3 separate regions of the Homo sapiens genome follow, and regions 2 and 3 are each linked to region 1. The links are contacts of gene promoters, found by promoter capture Hi-C in blood cells and fetal thymus (Javierre and others, 2016). All regions are on one chromosome and are shown on one strand. The core of a region is centred on a gene start or on the middle of the fragment in contact, and the rest is flanking DNA. Distances in the headings are between cores, read along the strand shown.

Region 1 (4,861 bases), core at 1,386-3,885:
GCATGATCTCGGCTCACTGCAACCTCCACCTCCCAGGTTCAAGCGATTCTCCTGCCTCAGTCTCCAGAGTAGCTGGGATTACAGGCATGCGCCACCATGCCCAGCTAATTTTTGTATTTTTAGTAGAAATGGGGTTTTACCATGGTGGTCAGGCTGGTCTTGAACTCCTGACTCAGGGGATCTGCTTACCTGGGACTCCCAAAATACTGGGATTACAGGCATGAGCCACCACGCCTGGCTGAGGCCTGCTCTTTTAACTGTGAATGTATAACTGATAAAAATATAAAAATAGAAGACAGAGAAGAAACAGTTTTAAAAAGAAAGATAACATACTGACGTGACTTTTGAGGATTATGGTGAAGATATCCAAAGAAGATGTATGACAACAAGATTTTGAGATGCTTATGAAAACTAGTGAAAGAGTGGTCAAAGTGTAAACGGACTTTTTGGTTTTTTTAAATCCTCCTCTCTTCACCAATCCCTTGGCTTGCTCTCTTTGATGTAAGAACCTGGCTAGGCTTTCTGGAAGTAGACTCCTTGAAGTTGGCAAAAATAACAACAACAACAACAACAAAACAAAATAACCCCCCAAAACAAAAAGAAAAACAAAAAACCCCAAAACCAAAAATATCTCCGAAACCAAAAAATACCCCGCAACCAAAAAACCCCAAACCAAAACCAAACCAAACCAAAACCCAAACTGAACAAACCCAAAAATCACCAACAGAAAGAGGTATGCTAGAAGAGGTGGCATGTGCTTTCCTAAATATAGAATTGGGGGATGTTGGGAAAAGTATTGGAGGAAGGATATGGAAAGTATCCTAAAAGTGAAAGGACCAATGATGTCTGGGAAATAGCAAGTAGTCCAACTATTTGGTGGCTAGCAGTGATTCTCAAACTTTGCAGCATGTTATAGTCTTTTAAAAATCCTGATGTGGCTGGGTGTGGTGGCTTGCACCTATAATTCCAGCACTTGGGGAAGCCTAAGTGGGTGGATCACTTGAGGTCATGGGTTTGAGACCAGCCTGTCTAACATGGTGAAACCCCGCCTCTACTAAAAATCTAAAAAATTCAGCCGGGCAAGGCGGCGGGCACCTGTAATCCCAGTTACTCAGGAGGCTGAGGCAGGAGAATCACCTGAACAACAGAGTGAGACTGTCTCAAAACAAAAACAAAAACAAAAATTCCTGACGCCCATGTCAATTAGACAATTTGGGAGTAAAAGCCAAACATACGCATATTTTTGGGTTTTTTTTTTTTTTTTTGTATTTTTAGTAGAGATGGGGTTTCTCCATGTTGGTCTGGCTGGTCTCAAACTCCCGACCTCAGGTGATCCGCCTGCCTCAGGCTTCCAAAGTGCTGGGATTACGGGTGTGAGCCACCCGCCCGGCCTTGTTTTTGTTTTTAAGCTCCCCAGGTGATTCTATTGTGTAACTAAGGTTGGGAAGCACTGCAGTATAGAGTTTGCATGAGGAAGCTAAGATTGGAAATGTGGGGCAAGATTGTGAAGAAGAATCTCAAATGCCCGGGTACCTAACCTGATCTCTAGGAGACAATGGAGTGCCACTGATGGCTTTTGAACTGTACGTGATTCATCCTGATGTTTGGGGAAGATCAATGCACAGAAATCTCTGTGAGATTCTAGAAGCAAGGAGACCACTAGCTAGACTGAGACTAGTTCACAACGCAGAATGACCAGTGGAGAGAAGTATACTGTGTGCCTTAGGTGTGTCCACGTGTTACCAAAGCCTCTCTGTTTCGCTGAAATGTGTGGTCCCCCTCACTAAAGCTCTGGTGGTGTCCTCCCTGCCACCAGGCAGCCTGGTGTGGTGGTCCCCCAGAAGGATGGGCGAACCACCGGGATGCAGTGTAGGCCGAACCTTGCCCCAGGGGAGGGCGGCGGGCTTAGCTCTCTGATTGGGTGGATTCTCTGGTGTGTAGGAAAGTACTCCCAGGCCCAGAGAAGCTGTGAAGACCAAACCGGCTCCCTAGGCCGAGAACCGCTGGGGAGGTAGCAGCCAGAGGTGGTCCTCTCCGACCCACTACTCTGTCGATCATCACTGGGGAGGTGGAAAGACAAGGCAAGATCCTCATTTTGTTGCCTGCTCAGGCCTGTGCGCACTTACTCTCCATGGACACGACGGTGAGCGTGGAGCAGCCCGCGGTCTCGCTGCCCCCTTCACTCCCGGACCCCCAGCCTCCCCAGAGTGGAGGGGCAAGCACACAGTAAGTACTTGATATTCGCCCGACTCCTGAGCTCCTCATCTGTAGGAGCTAGGGGGCTTGTTCTCCGTACGTCCTTTGTTGGAGGGAGGAACGAGGGAAGGAGAAAACCCACGCTGAGGCCGTTGGCCGATCACTTTCTTTACCTCCCGGACAACATTGATGGGCCCCACTAAGGAAAGCCGAATTCTCGCATGCCCGAGGAGTGTCGGAGGTGGTTGTGCGCCTAGTCCCTCCTGGTAAAGGGTTCGAAGCACTCGTTTATTCAAAGGCGGCCGAGAGCCATACCATTTGCTTGCATGACGGGAGACACCGAAACGCCCCTTTTGAACGCGATGACAAACACCTCCTCCCACTCAGCAGCGACGTGCACGTGACAGTTTTTGGGCTCTCGCAACTACGTGGAAACTTGGAATAGGTCTGCGGCTGCACACCGCCCGGACGCCGGGGTTCCTGCGTCCCCCGCCCCCTCTGATCGCGGCTGGGTAGCCGAGCCGCAGGCAGCTGGGGGCCCCCGAACGCCGCCTCTGCATCGCGCCGCCCCTGCCCCGGGCTCCGGTAGCTTTCGGGCTTCCGCACTGCCCGCCGCGCCCTGCCCACAGGGAAGCGCTTCCCCAGGCGGCGGCGGTCCTGGTGCGGACCCTCCGGCCGCAGCCATGTGGGACCCGCGGGCAGCTAGGTGCGTAGCGGCGCGGGAAGCACTGGGGCATCTCTGGCCTTCCGGGCCCGCCACCCTTCCTGGCGGGAGGCGGCCGCGCGCGGGGACTGGCGACCCTGAGGTAGCGGCCGAACGGGCCCGCCCGGCCATCCCTGTGGGGCCCACAGCCATCTAGGTGCAGACCCGAGCCAGTTGCGCGGGGTCGGTCGCGGGGGACGGCTTCGGCCTTTTCGGTCCGGAGGGACCAGGGCACGCGCTGCGACAGGACTGCGGCGGCGCGCGGCCTGCCTAGCTCCCACCCCGGCATCGAAGCCGCAGCTCTCGGGCCCACCTCCGCATCCTCAGGGGTTCCCGGGGGCTGCCGACAGGTTCCTGACCAGCGAGCGCGCCCCCGGGGCAAGCATTCTTGGCGGGCAGAAACCTGGGAGCGGAGCACAGCGGTGCAAGGGAACCGTGCCAGGCGGGAAGGGCGGAATTTGCGGGGAACTTGGAGCGCGCTGGCCTCTTCCCGGCAGTAGGAGGCCTTCTTCCCTGCCCGCCCGATTGAGGGCTGCTGGGCTGGCTCAAACTGGACTGCACGGTCCATCAGCCTGGGCTCACCGAGTCTAGGGGGAAGGTAGTAGTAGGGACCCAAGGCTGGGAAGCGGAGCCCTTAGAAGCCCTTGCTTCTGCCTCGGAGCGTTTCCGAACCGGAGCTCGGAGTCTGTTGCCTGGGAGGCGCGTTGCGTTTCCTCCCAACTCCCTGTCTCCGTCCCGCGGGGAGCCCTGTGCACTTGCAACCCGGCTGAGATAGAGCCCATCTTTGAGGTGCAGCTCAAGCCACCTTTTCTCCCAGATCGGGGTGTTTCTGGGCAGTTGAAAGCTTTGGTGCTTCCTAGGAAAATTTTTATGGAAGTGTGCAATTTGGAAAATAAAAGAAAAAAAAATTTAAGAAGCAGAAAGAGAATGGGGCTCTGAGGTCTCTAGTTCCCCTATCTGCTCCAACCCAGTTGCTGCTGGCTCAGTTAGTCCTTATGCGGGAAGGAATAGCTGGGATTAAAGCCTTGTGTTCCCAGCGTAGGTATGCGCTCCTGCTCCCTCGTGCTGAGCGTTTTGGGTTCCAGGATCCTTTTTGATATAAGGCTGTTATCCGGATGGCATCCTGTTTGGTCCTTTATAGAAAAAAAAAAAAAGTACTACGGTGTGTGTGTGTTGGAGGGCGGGGACGGTGGTCAGGAGTTTGTTTCAACTGTTTTCCAGGCAGGTCTGTTTTGTAGGATTGCAGGATAGGTGCTTGAGTTCATATGCTCTTTGTTGGCTTTTGCATCCTCTGCGGGGGGTGGGGGGGTGGGTAGAGGTGGGATAGGTGTGTGTGGCATTCACTCCCAGAGTCGCATCCCACTGCCACTGGCCTATGTATGGGTTTCTAGGTCTTTTTTCGATCAAGACCCACACCCACCCACCTATATGTATATAATGTATATATGCATAATATGTGTGTAATATTATATATACATATATACGCACACACACATACACATGTAAAATTGCAGCAAGAGCTTCATGGTATAGTTATTCTTTCTACAGGGTGAGGCACAATGATATTTTCCATTCTATTCCCTCCCCCCACCCCCCACCAGAGGGATTCTCGCTCTGTCACCCAGGCTGGAGTGCAATGAGGCGATCTCGGCTCACTGCAGCCTCCGCCTCCTGGGTTCAAGCGATTCTCCTGCCGCAGCCTCCGAAATAGCTGGGATTACGGGGGGCCGGGGGTGGGGCGCCACCAAGCCTGACTAATTTTTGTATTTTTAGTGGAGACGGTGTTTCGCCATGTTGGCCATGCTGGTCTCAAACTCCTGATCTCAAGTGATCCACCCGCTTCTGCCTGCCAGAGTGCTGGGATTACACGCCAGAGCCACCACGCCGGCCCATTCTATGTTTTTTTTTTTTTTTTAAAGCGGGTCATAAATTGTTAACTTCACTTTATGACCGACTGACCAG
Region 2 (4,861 bases), core at 1,057-3,556, 240 kb before region 1:
CTAGAACATATTGTTTAGTAACCTACTGTTTTACGTTAAAACATTATCCACTTTCTCCTACAATAGAAATTGTAATGGCTATAATACATGATTATTTCATTATCACATCTATTTTTAAGGAAACCAGGCCTAAATCTAGTTTCCATAATATTCTGATGAGCAGGACCACAGAGCAGTGATTTTGATCAGGATTGTGCCTGTTAAAAGCTGGCTACTCCATGGCATGCACAGCTCCAGGATGGGAGATTAACTTCAACAACCATTCATTTAGTTTGGTTTGATTTTCTGCCAGTCTCATGACCGACTTGAAGCACGTCCTAGAACAGAGAATGTTATGTTTGGTGTCCAAGGAAGCAGCAAACTAGAGGCGCCATCCCAAATTCTAGAATAATAGAGTCAACAATCGTTTCACACCAAAGTCATCCATTTTCTGAAGCAAATTTTGAACTAAAATGTTAAAAATGTTTTGTAAGGTAGATTAAACGTCATGTGGGGAAAATAACTTGTTAGTGCAAAAAGGAAAAGAAACTGAAAACAGACATATCTGTAGATAAATTTTCCTTTCAAGATTCTACAGTATAAATATCCATCTAAAAGATGAATTGGCTTCTTAAGCCAATTCATTGTCACTTGCTTCTGAAGTGTTTCCCAGGCACCTTAGTTATCAGCCACCCTGCCCCTAGGGTATCGAGGACAAATACGTTTCAGGTAGCTTGACAACAGGAAAGAATTTTAAGGACAAGAAACTACCTGCAATACCAGTTGGGAGTGTCCTGAAAAGTGATGTACTGAAATACTGACCCTTCCAGCTGGTTAACTTTCATAATCATGCATTTACTTTTCAATGGCAACTGAATATATGACTGCCTGATGATTCAGGGGAAAAAATGCAGTATTGTGTGTGGAATTGGAAGAGATTCAAAGTGAGTGCCATGGCAGTGACTAACTTCTTTCAAAAGCTTAAGGAAGAAACAATGCATAGGCCTTTGAGTTAGTTGGTGTAGTAAGCATTGTGTTTTCACCATCAGTATCCATTTCTATATTTTGGTGACAGTACTCCATTTTGTTCTTCCGGGAACCACTCCTCTCCTATAGTCCATGATCTTTGGGTGGACCAGAGGTAAAGCATATGACTCAAATTTGGCTAATCATAGCACAAGAGTTTTCCTTGCTACAGTAATTTGTTAAAGGATGGGAAGGTAACTCTCTATCCTTTAACAAATTACTGTAGCAAGGTAATTGGTTCAGTGAATCTAGGAGCTACTGGAAGGGATCTCTTGCTGGACTTGGACTGGAGTGAATATAGAACTAAAGTTTTTGAGAACTGTCTTGTTGCCACATGATGAAGTCTGAGTATAAGCCAATATGGAGAAAAGCTGATTGGGGTTTTTTTTGTTTTGTTTTGTTTTTAAAAGAAACAGGATCTTGCTGTGTTGCCCAGGCTGGAGTGCAGTGGCTATTCACAGGCACAATTGTGGTGCCATATAAGCCTTGGACTCCTGGGCTCAAGCTTCCTGAGGTAGCTGACATTACTACTACAGGCACAAACCTGGGCCTTTTTTTTTTTTTTTTTTTACCCCCCAGAAGGCTCTCTCTTTATTTGTCTGACCTGAAATGGGCATAAGTTGCAACAGATTGAAAATTCTAACTCTACCTTCATTTTCAGAAGTGTCTAAATTAAACATTTATAAGAAAATTGATGTTTTATAAAAACAAAAGACATGAAAAGCTCTGTATTCAAATATTTTTATTCTGTGAACATTGAAAATGCCTTCTAGGAATATGGCATTGCGGGGTGTATACAAAAAAATAGATCTTTTCTCAAAAAGCATGTAATCTGCTTGGGAAGACAAGAACATTATTAAAAAAAACCCTTTAGAACACAAGTGAGTTGTGGACAGTAATACATATAAATAATCTGAATGGCAGTATATAATAACTGATAACTATCTACAACCAAAACCAGCCTAGAACAAAAGCATGAGTAAGAGGCTTTAGGGTACACTTCTGAGCATTTTCTTTTAATTCTCAAGACATTTGTCCTTGTTTTCCTAATCTTTAGGTGGATTCATACATTTGTATTTCCTACCTGGTATTTCCTCTGAATTACTGACTTGTAATTCAAACACCACATCTGCTCCCAACCACTTCCTACCACTTCCACTGCTACCTGAATTATTGTTATAGCCTAACTGGTCTTCCTGCTCTCACCTTTGCTCCCCTAAAGTCTATTCACAATAACCAGTTTAAACTATTATTTTATTAGGAAAAATTTCAAACACACAGCAAAGTTGAAAGAATTTTACAGCAATCACTTCTGCATCCACCACTTATATTCTACCATTAACAGAATACTCCTTTAAATAATGGCAGATGTGTAGTTCCTCTGCTCAAAACCCTCCCACGGCTTAGCTTACTCAAAGAGGAAAAACCAGGCTGGGCGTGATAGCTCACGTCTGTAATCCCAGCATTTTGGAAGACTTTAGGAGGCTGAGGTGGGAGGATCACTTGCGGGCGGGAGTTTAAGACCAGCCTGGGCAACATAATGAAATACCATCTCTTAAAAAAAAAAACTTAGCTGGGCGTGGTGCTGGATGCCTGTAGTCCCAGTTACTAAGGAAGCTAAGGCAGGAAGATCACTTGAGCCCAGAAGTTCAGGACTGCAGTGAGCTATGAGCACGCCATTGCACTCCAGCCTGAGTGACAAAGTGAGACCCTGTCTTAAGGGGGAAAAAAAAAAGGAGAAAAGCCAATTTGTTACCATGGTCACCAGTATGATCTGGCCTCTGTTACCATTCTTCCCACTTGTCCTTTACTCTTCAGCCTTGTTACTGCTCCTTAAACATGGCAGGCACATTTTTGTTTTAGGGCCTTTGCACTTGCTGTTCCTTTGCTTCAAATGCTCTTCTCCCAGGTATTTACATGGCTTGCTTCTCTTTCTTTCGATCACCTCATTAGTTCTGACTCTTCCAAGTATTAAGTTGAACCATATGACCCTAATGTCACACAACTGGATTGAACCATTCAAACCTAAGGTGTAATGTCATTCTCAGGTCAAAAATTATTTTTAAAAATCAGTAATTTCATAGGATTCAAGCTTATAAAATAGCAACTCCACCCTACCCTTTCATTCTCACCCTGTTCCAATATTCTTACAGCACTATTATCTTATTTATGATTTGTATATTGTATGTAAGATCCTCACAGATAGGGAATTTGTCTGTTGTCCACTGCCGTGTGCTCTGTGTGCAGAGTAGGATTTGGTCTATAGCAGGCCTTCAGGATGCATTTATTTAAAGAATGAGTAGCTGAGACTACAGGTGCGCACCACCACACTTGGCTAATGTTTTCATTTTTTTATATTTTGTAGAGATGGGGTCCCACTATATTGCTTAGGCTGGTCTCAAACTCCTGGGCGCAAGCAATCCTCTCACCTTGGCCTCCCAAAGTGCTGGGCTTACAGTTGTGAGCTACCACACCTGGCCAAAAATGAATTCTTTTTAAAAAATTTTTCTTTTTTGAAGCAAAGTCTTACTCTGTGGCCCAGGCTGGAGTGCAGTGCCATGATCTCGACTCACTGCAGCCTACGCCTCCCCGGTTCAAGCGATTCTTGTGCCTCAGCCTCCCGAGTAGCTGGGACCACAGGTGCATGACACTATGCATGAATGAATTCTTAACATTGAAGTCAGAGTGGTCTTTTGAAAATACAAATCTGATCATGTTGCTCTCACTAAAAACTCGATTGGTTTGCAGATTTCGGAACAAAGATTAGAATCTTTACCACAGCCTCTAAGACCCTGAATGGTGGACCCTTAACTCTCCAGACTCATCTCACATTCTCTCATTTCAGTCCCTGGGACTCTGTTGCTTCTATCATGAGGTCTATTTGTGCTTTCTTGCTTTCCCCCACCTCTGCATGTAGTTTATACTCTGAGGCACTTTTAAATCTCGGCTTGAAACATCTATTCCCAGGAGAAGGCATTTCTGATACCTCAGGTTAGGTCAAGTCCCAATGCTTTTATGCCCTCATGGCAGCACATACCTACCCTTTGTAATACCTGTTAGATTTTAAAGGTACTTTTGTGAGATTGTCTAACTTACCAGTTTCATAAGAAAAAGAAACATTTTTGTTTTTGCTTCCCGTCGGATGTCTAGCATTTGCAAATTATCTAGCACATAGTGAGAGCTTAACATTAAAAAAATATATATCAACAGAAACTCTGGAATTCTAGCTCCTTAAGAGCAGAGATTGTTTTGTCCCTGTGTCAAGTACCTAATTGGGTGCTTGATTTATCTGCTGATACACAGCAGATAAATAATAGTTTGTTAAATAAGCTATAATATGAAGGATGTTTTTTACTCATTTATAGTAAGTACATAATGCAGAAAAACCGTCACTTGATAATCAGTGATTAGGTGCTCATAACATAATTGATACCTACACAAAGTCCCAAATTTTCCCCTTTCATCAACCTTTCCTCAAGACTAAGATTGAACAAAGTAATTTAGCCTTCATTTTTTCCCTGTTTATTCTCTGGTGGAGTAAAGGGTGAGTGCCCTGGGTAGGAGAATCCATGTAGAACCAGAATTAGCCATAAGTGAGATTTTGCACACTAACCAACAAACCACAGCATTCTTTTTTTTTTTTTTTTTTTTTTTTTTTGAGGTAGGATCTTGCTCTGTCACCCAGGCTGGCTTGCAGTGGTGTAGTCATGGCTCACTGCAGCTTTGACCTCCAGGACTCAAGTGCTCCACCCACCTCAGCCTCTGGAGTAGCTGGGACTACAGGTGTGGACCACCACAACCAGCTATATTTTTTTTTTTTTGTAGAGACAGGATTTCACCATGTTGCCCAGGTTGG
Region 3 (4,861 bases), core at 924-3,423, 220 kb after region 1:
CAAATTTATTCTAGTAAGTTTTCACACAGTGGTCTAATTAACTGCTTAGTTCACCTTTGGTCTGAGCAATCAGCTTCTACCATGAGAAACAGGGCCTTACGTGTGTGGGTACAAGCTAGTTTGGAAGGAGGCTGGAGTATTGACTTGTGTCTGATTATTTAACCTTCCCTCAAACTGGAAAACTTATTTAATGGCAGGCGGCACCGATGCATCTTTTACTTGCTGCAAGATATGCTGGGTTTGCGCCCTCATGGTTTGGTTTTTCATGTGAAATTTAGTTTTATTTTTTCTAGCATAGTGACCTAAATACTTGCCACACTTACCTCTTGTGATTAGTTTCTTTTAGGTTAAGATCCAACAGTCATAATCTTGTATCAAATCCCTTGTTGGGGGAGGAGGACAGGACATACTAACTTGGCAATGGGATTTGGCTTACCAGAGATGAGAAAGCCAGTCACTTGGACTTGTTTGAAAGAGTGAGACAGGTGGGATAAGTTTTGAATGGGAAAAAGGAAGGAGCATTTGAGATTCTGTATTCATTCAGAGTGAAGGTGAGTGTGCCTTTTCTCTATTTTAAAAATTGACCAATTCTACCCTTTTCTAAAACCTGGTGGAGGTCCAAGGCAAACTGGGCCTTTTGGTCACTCTAGAGCTATTACTTTGCTAGGCAGATTACAGACATTGAATGAAACTTGTGACATAAGCCTATTTGCTGGAAACTGTCACTCCCATTCTCCCCTCTTTTATTTTGAGACAGGGTCTTACTCTGTTGCTCAGGATGGAGTGCAGTGGTGCAATCATGGCACACTGCAGCCTCGACTTCTCAGGCTCTAGTGATCCTCCTACCTCAGCCTCCCAAGTAGCTGGGACCACAGGCATGCACCACCATGCCTGGCTAATATTTTTACTATTTGTAGAGGTGGGGTCTCCTCGTGTTGCCCAGGCTGGTCTTGAACTCCTGGCCTCAAGTGATCCTTCCACCTTGGCCTCCCAAAGAGCTGGGATTACAGATGTAAGCCACTGCACCTGCCCCACCCCCCGTTTTTTTTTTTTTTGAGACGGAGTCTCGCTCTGTCGCCCAGGCTGGAGTGCAGTGGCGCGAGCTCAGCTCACTTCAAGCTCCGCCTCCTGGGTTCACGCTATTCTTCTGCCTCAGCCTTCAGAGTAGCTGGGACTACAGGCGCCCGCCATCAGGCTGGCTAATTTTTTGTATTTTTAGTAGAGATGGGTTTCACCGTGTTAGCCAGGATGGTCTTGATCTCCTGACCTCATGATCCGCCCGTCTTGGCCTCCCAAAGTGCTGGGATTACAGGCATGAGCCACCGAGCCCGGCCCATTTTTTTTTTTTTTTAACAAATGAGAAAACAGAGGCTCAGATGAGTAAAGAAATTTGTCCAAGACCATCCAGCCTCAAGTCTTGGAGTTGGAATTGTTCAAAGACTCCTGGCCTGTTTGATTCTTAATCCCCCACCCCTCCAAATGAGGGCCTGTATTTAACATCTCTCTCCTGCTTATTAGTTTACTTCCTCATTTTTCATAATTTTTAATTTTTGTGGGTATGTATTAGTCTGTTTTTATGCTGCTGATAAAGAGATACCTGAGACTGGGAAGAAAAAGAGGTTTAATAGACTTATGGTTCCACATGGCTGGGGAGGCCTTCCCACAATCATGGTGGAAGGCAAGGAGGAGCAAGTCATATCTTACATGGATGGCAGCAGGCAAATAGAGAGCTTGTGCAGGCAAACTCCCATTTTTGAAACTGTCAGATCTCGTGAGACTGATTCGCTATCATGAGAACAGCACAGGAAAGACCCGCCCCCATAATTCAATTACCTCCTACTGGGTTCCTCCCACAACATGTGGGAATTGTGGGAGTTACAATTCAAGATGAGATTTGGGTGGGGACACAGCCAAACCATATCATTCTGCCCTGGCCCCTCCCAAATCTCATGTCCTCACATTTCAAAACCAATCATGTCTTCTCAATAGTTCCCCAAAGTCTTAACTCATTTCAGCATTAACTTAAGAGTCCACAGTCCAAAGTCTCATCCAAGACAAGTAAAGTCCCTTCCTCCTGTGAGCCTGTAGAATCAAAAGCAAGTTAGTTACTTCCTAGATACAGTCGGGGTACAGGTGTTGGGTAAATACAGCCATTTCAACTGGGAGGAATTGGCCAAAACAAAGGGGCCACAGGCCCCATGAAAGTCTGAAATCTAGCGGGGCAGTCAAATCTTAAAGCTCCAAAATGATCTCTTTTGACTCCAGGTCTCACATCCAGGTCACGCTAATGCAAGAGGTGGGTTCCCATGGTCTTGGGCAGCTCCGCTCCTGTGGTTTTGCAGGGTACAGCCTCTCTCCTGGCTTCTTTCACAGGCTGGCATTGAAAGTCTGTGGCTTTTCTAGGTGCATGGTACAAGTTGTCATTGGTCTACCATTCTGAAGGCTGGAGGACAGTGGCCTTCTTCTCACAGCTCCATTAGGCAGTGCCCCAGTAGGGACTCTGTTTGGGGGATCCGACCCCACATTTCCCTTCTGCACTGCCCTAGCAGAGAGTCTCCATGAGAACCCCTCCCCTGCAGCAAACTTTTGCCTGGACATCCAGGCGTTTGCATACATCCTCTGAAATCTGGCAGAGGTTCCTAAACCCCAATTCTTGACTTCTGTGCAATGGCAGGCTCACTACCACTTGGAATTGACCAAGGCTTGCTTCCTCTGAAGCCACAACTCGAGCTCTACGTTTGCCCCTTTCAGCCATGGCTGGAGCGGCTGGGAGGCAGGGTACCAAGTCCCTAGGCTGCACACAGCATGGGGATCCTGGGCCCAGTCCACAAAACCACTTTTTCCTTGTAGGTCTCTACACCTGTGATAGGATGGGGTGCCATGAAGACCTCTGACATGCCCTGGAGACATTTTCCCCATTGTCTTGGGGATTAACATTTGGGTCCTCATTACTTAGGCAAATTTCTGCAGCCGGCTTTAATTTATCCTTGGAAAATGGGATTTTCTTTTCTATTGCATTGTCAGGCTGCAAATTTTCCAAACTTTTGTGCTCTGTTTCCCTTATAAAACTGAATGTCTTTAACAGCACCCAAGTCACCTCTTGAATGCTTTACTGCTTAGAAATTTCTTCCACCAGATATCCTAAATCATCTCTCTCAAGTTCAAAGTTCCATAAATCTCTAGGGCAGGGGCAAAATGCCACCAGTCTCTGCTAAAATGTAGCAAGAGTCACCTTTGTCCCAGTTCCCAACAAGTTCCTCATTTCCATCTGAGACCACCTCAGTCTGGACTTTATTGTCCATATCACTATCAGCATTTTGGGCAAAGCCATTCAACAAGTCTCTAGGAAGTTACAAACTTTCCCACATTTTTCTGTCTTCTTCTGAGCCCTCCAAACTGTACCAGTCTCTGCCTGTTACCAAGTTCCAAAGTCACTTCCACATTTTTGGGTATCTTTCCAGCAGTGCCCCACTCTACTGGTACCAGTTTACTGTATTAGTCCATTTTCATGCTGCTGATAAAGACATACCTGAGACCAGGAAAAAAAGGAGTTTAATGGACTATGGTTCCACATGGCTGGGGAGGCCTTCCCACAATTATGGTGGAAGGCAAGGAGGAGCAAGTCACATCTTACATGGATGGCATCAGGCAAAGAGAGAGCTTGTGCAGGCAAACTCCCATTTTTAAAACTGTCAGATCTCATGAGATTGATTCACTATCATGAGAACAGCATGGGAAAGACCCACTCCCATGATTCAATTACTGCCCACCGGGTTCCCCTCACAACATGTGGGAATTGTGGGAGTTACAATTCAAGATGAGATTTGGGTAGGGACACAGCCAAACCATATCAGGGTACATACTAGGTGCATATATTTTTGGGGTACATGAGATGTTTTGATACAGGCATGCAATGCATAATCATTACATCATGGAGAATGGGGTATTCATCCCCTCAAGCATTTATCCTTGTGTGATTACTTTTGCACCAACCTAATACAAGCAATCCAATTATACCCTTTTAGTTATTTAAAAATGTACAATTGAATTATCATTGACTATAGTCACCCTGTTTTTCTATCAAATAATAGGTCATATTCATTCTTTCTAAGTATTCTTTTTGTACCAATTAACCGTCCCTATCTCCCCCTCACCCCTGCCCCATACTTCTTCATTTTAATTCCCAGTCTTTTTCCTTTCTTTTTTCCCTCTGCCCAGCCTCTGCATTGCCCAGAGGCATTTTCTAATGCTCATGAAAGCTAGTCTGTGCTCAAAGTATCCTTGATCCTTGTTCTAAGTCAATGCTGTCTAATAGCCCTTTCTGCAACAATGGAAGTGTGTCTATCTGTGTTTCCCAATATAGTAGCCACAAGCCACAAGTGGCTTTTGAGCACTTGAAATGTGCCTAATGCAGCTGAGAAGCTAAATTTTAAATTTAATTTTACTTAATAAACTTAAGTAGCCACTTGTGACAATATGGTGCTACCATATTGGACGGCCTAGTAAATCTAACTCATTGGTTCTTAAGTTGAAAATGTGAGCCCTTGTCATTGAGGTCAAGTTAGCTTTGTCAGTGTTGGGCTAAGCTGTAATCTCATATAGGTTTATGGTTTGCTTTTCTTGACCTTGCATGGCTGTTGTTTCATTAGTATCCCTTCTTTGTTCTAATCACAATTTTGGTGGTTTGGGGATTTTGGTTTCTTACAGGTTCAGCGAAATGAGGACAAATCTACTACCTTGAAATTGGCTGATTTTGGACTTGCAAAGCATGTGGTGAGACCTATATTTACTGTGTGTGGGACCCCAACTTACGTAGCTCCCGAAATTCTTTCTGAGAAAGGTAAGTGTTACACATCGATCT

Evidence for each region. Contacts are between HindIII fragments. The CHiCAGO score rates a contact against its expected background, and 5 or more counts as called.
Region 2: a contact is called between a fragment that was not itself captured here and the fragment with the promoter of TRANK1 in region 1, in 1 of 17 cell types (neutrophils). The highest score is 5.2, in neutrophils.
Region 3: a contact is called between a fragment that was not itself captured here and the fragment with the promoter of TRANK1 in region 1, in 2 of 17 cell types (M0 macrophages and M2 macrophages). The highest score is 5.8, in M0 macrophages.

What each region holds. Positions count from the first base shown.
Region 1 is chr3:36,942,828-36,947,688 of GRCh38, reverse strand. TRANK1 (tetratricopeptide repeat and ankyrin repeat containing 1) reads left to right here and starts at 2,635. Exons shown (of 24, transcript NM_001329998.2): 1 at 2,635-2,902. The coding sequence starts at 2,880. RefSeq lists an enhancer at 2,468-2,537 and a silencer at 2,768-2,987. The HindIII fragment of the contact is 7,723 bases long and covers 1-3,745 here.
Region 2 is chr3:37,179,604-37,184,464 of GRCh38, reverse strand. The region is part of intron 1 of LOC105377642 (a long non-coding RNA gene); the gene reads right to left. Among named protein-coding and RNA genes, the nearest start is that of LRRFIP2, 7.5 kb to the right of the region's middle. The HindIII fragment of the contact is 1,587 bases long and covers 1,513-3,099 here.
Region 3 is chr3:36,721,506-36,726,366 of GRCh38, reverse strand. DCLK3 (doublecortin like kinase 3) reads left to right here. Exons shown (of 5, transcript NM_001394672.2): 3 at 4,708-4,840. Among named protein-coding and RNA genes, the nearest start is that of DCLK3, 41 kb to the left of the region's middle. The HindIII fragment of the contact is 7,854 bases long and covers 1-4,861 here.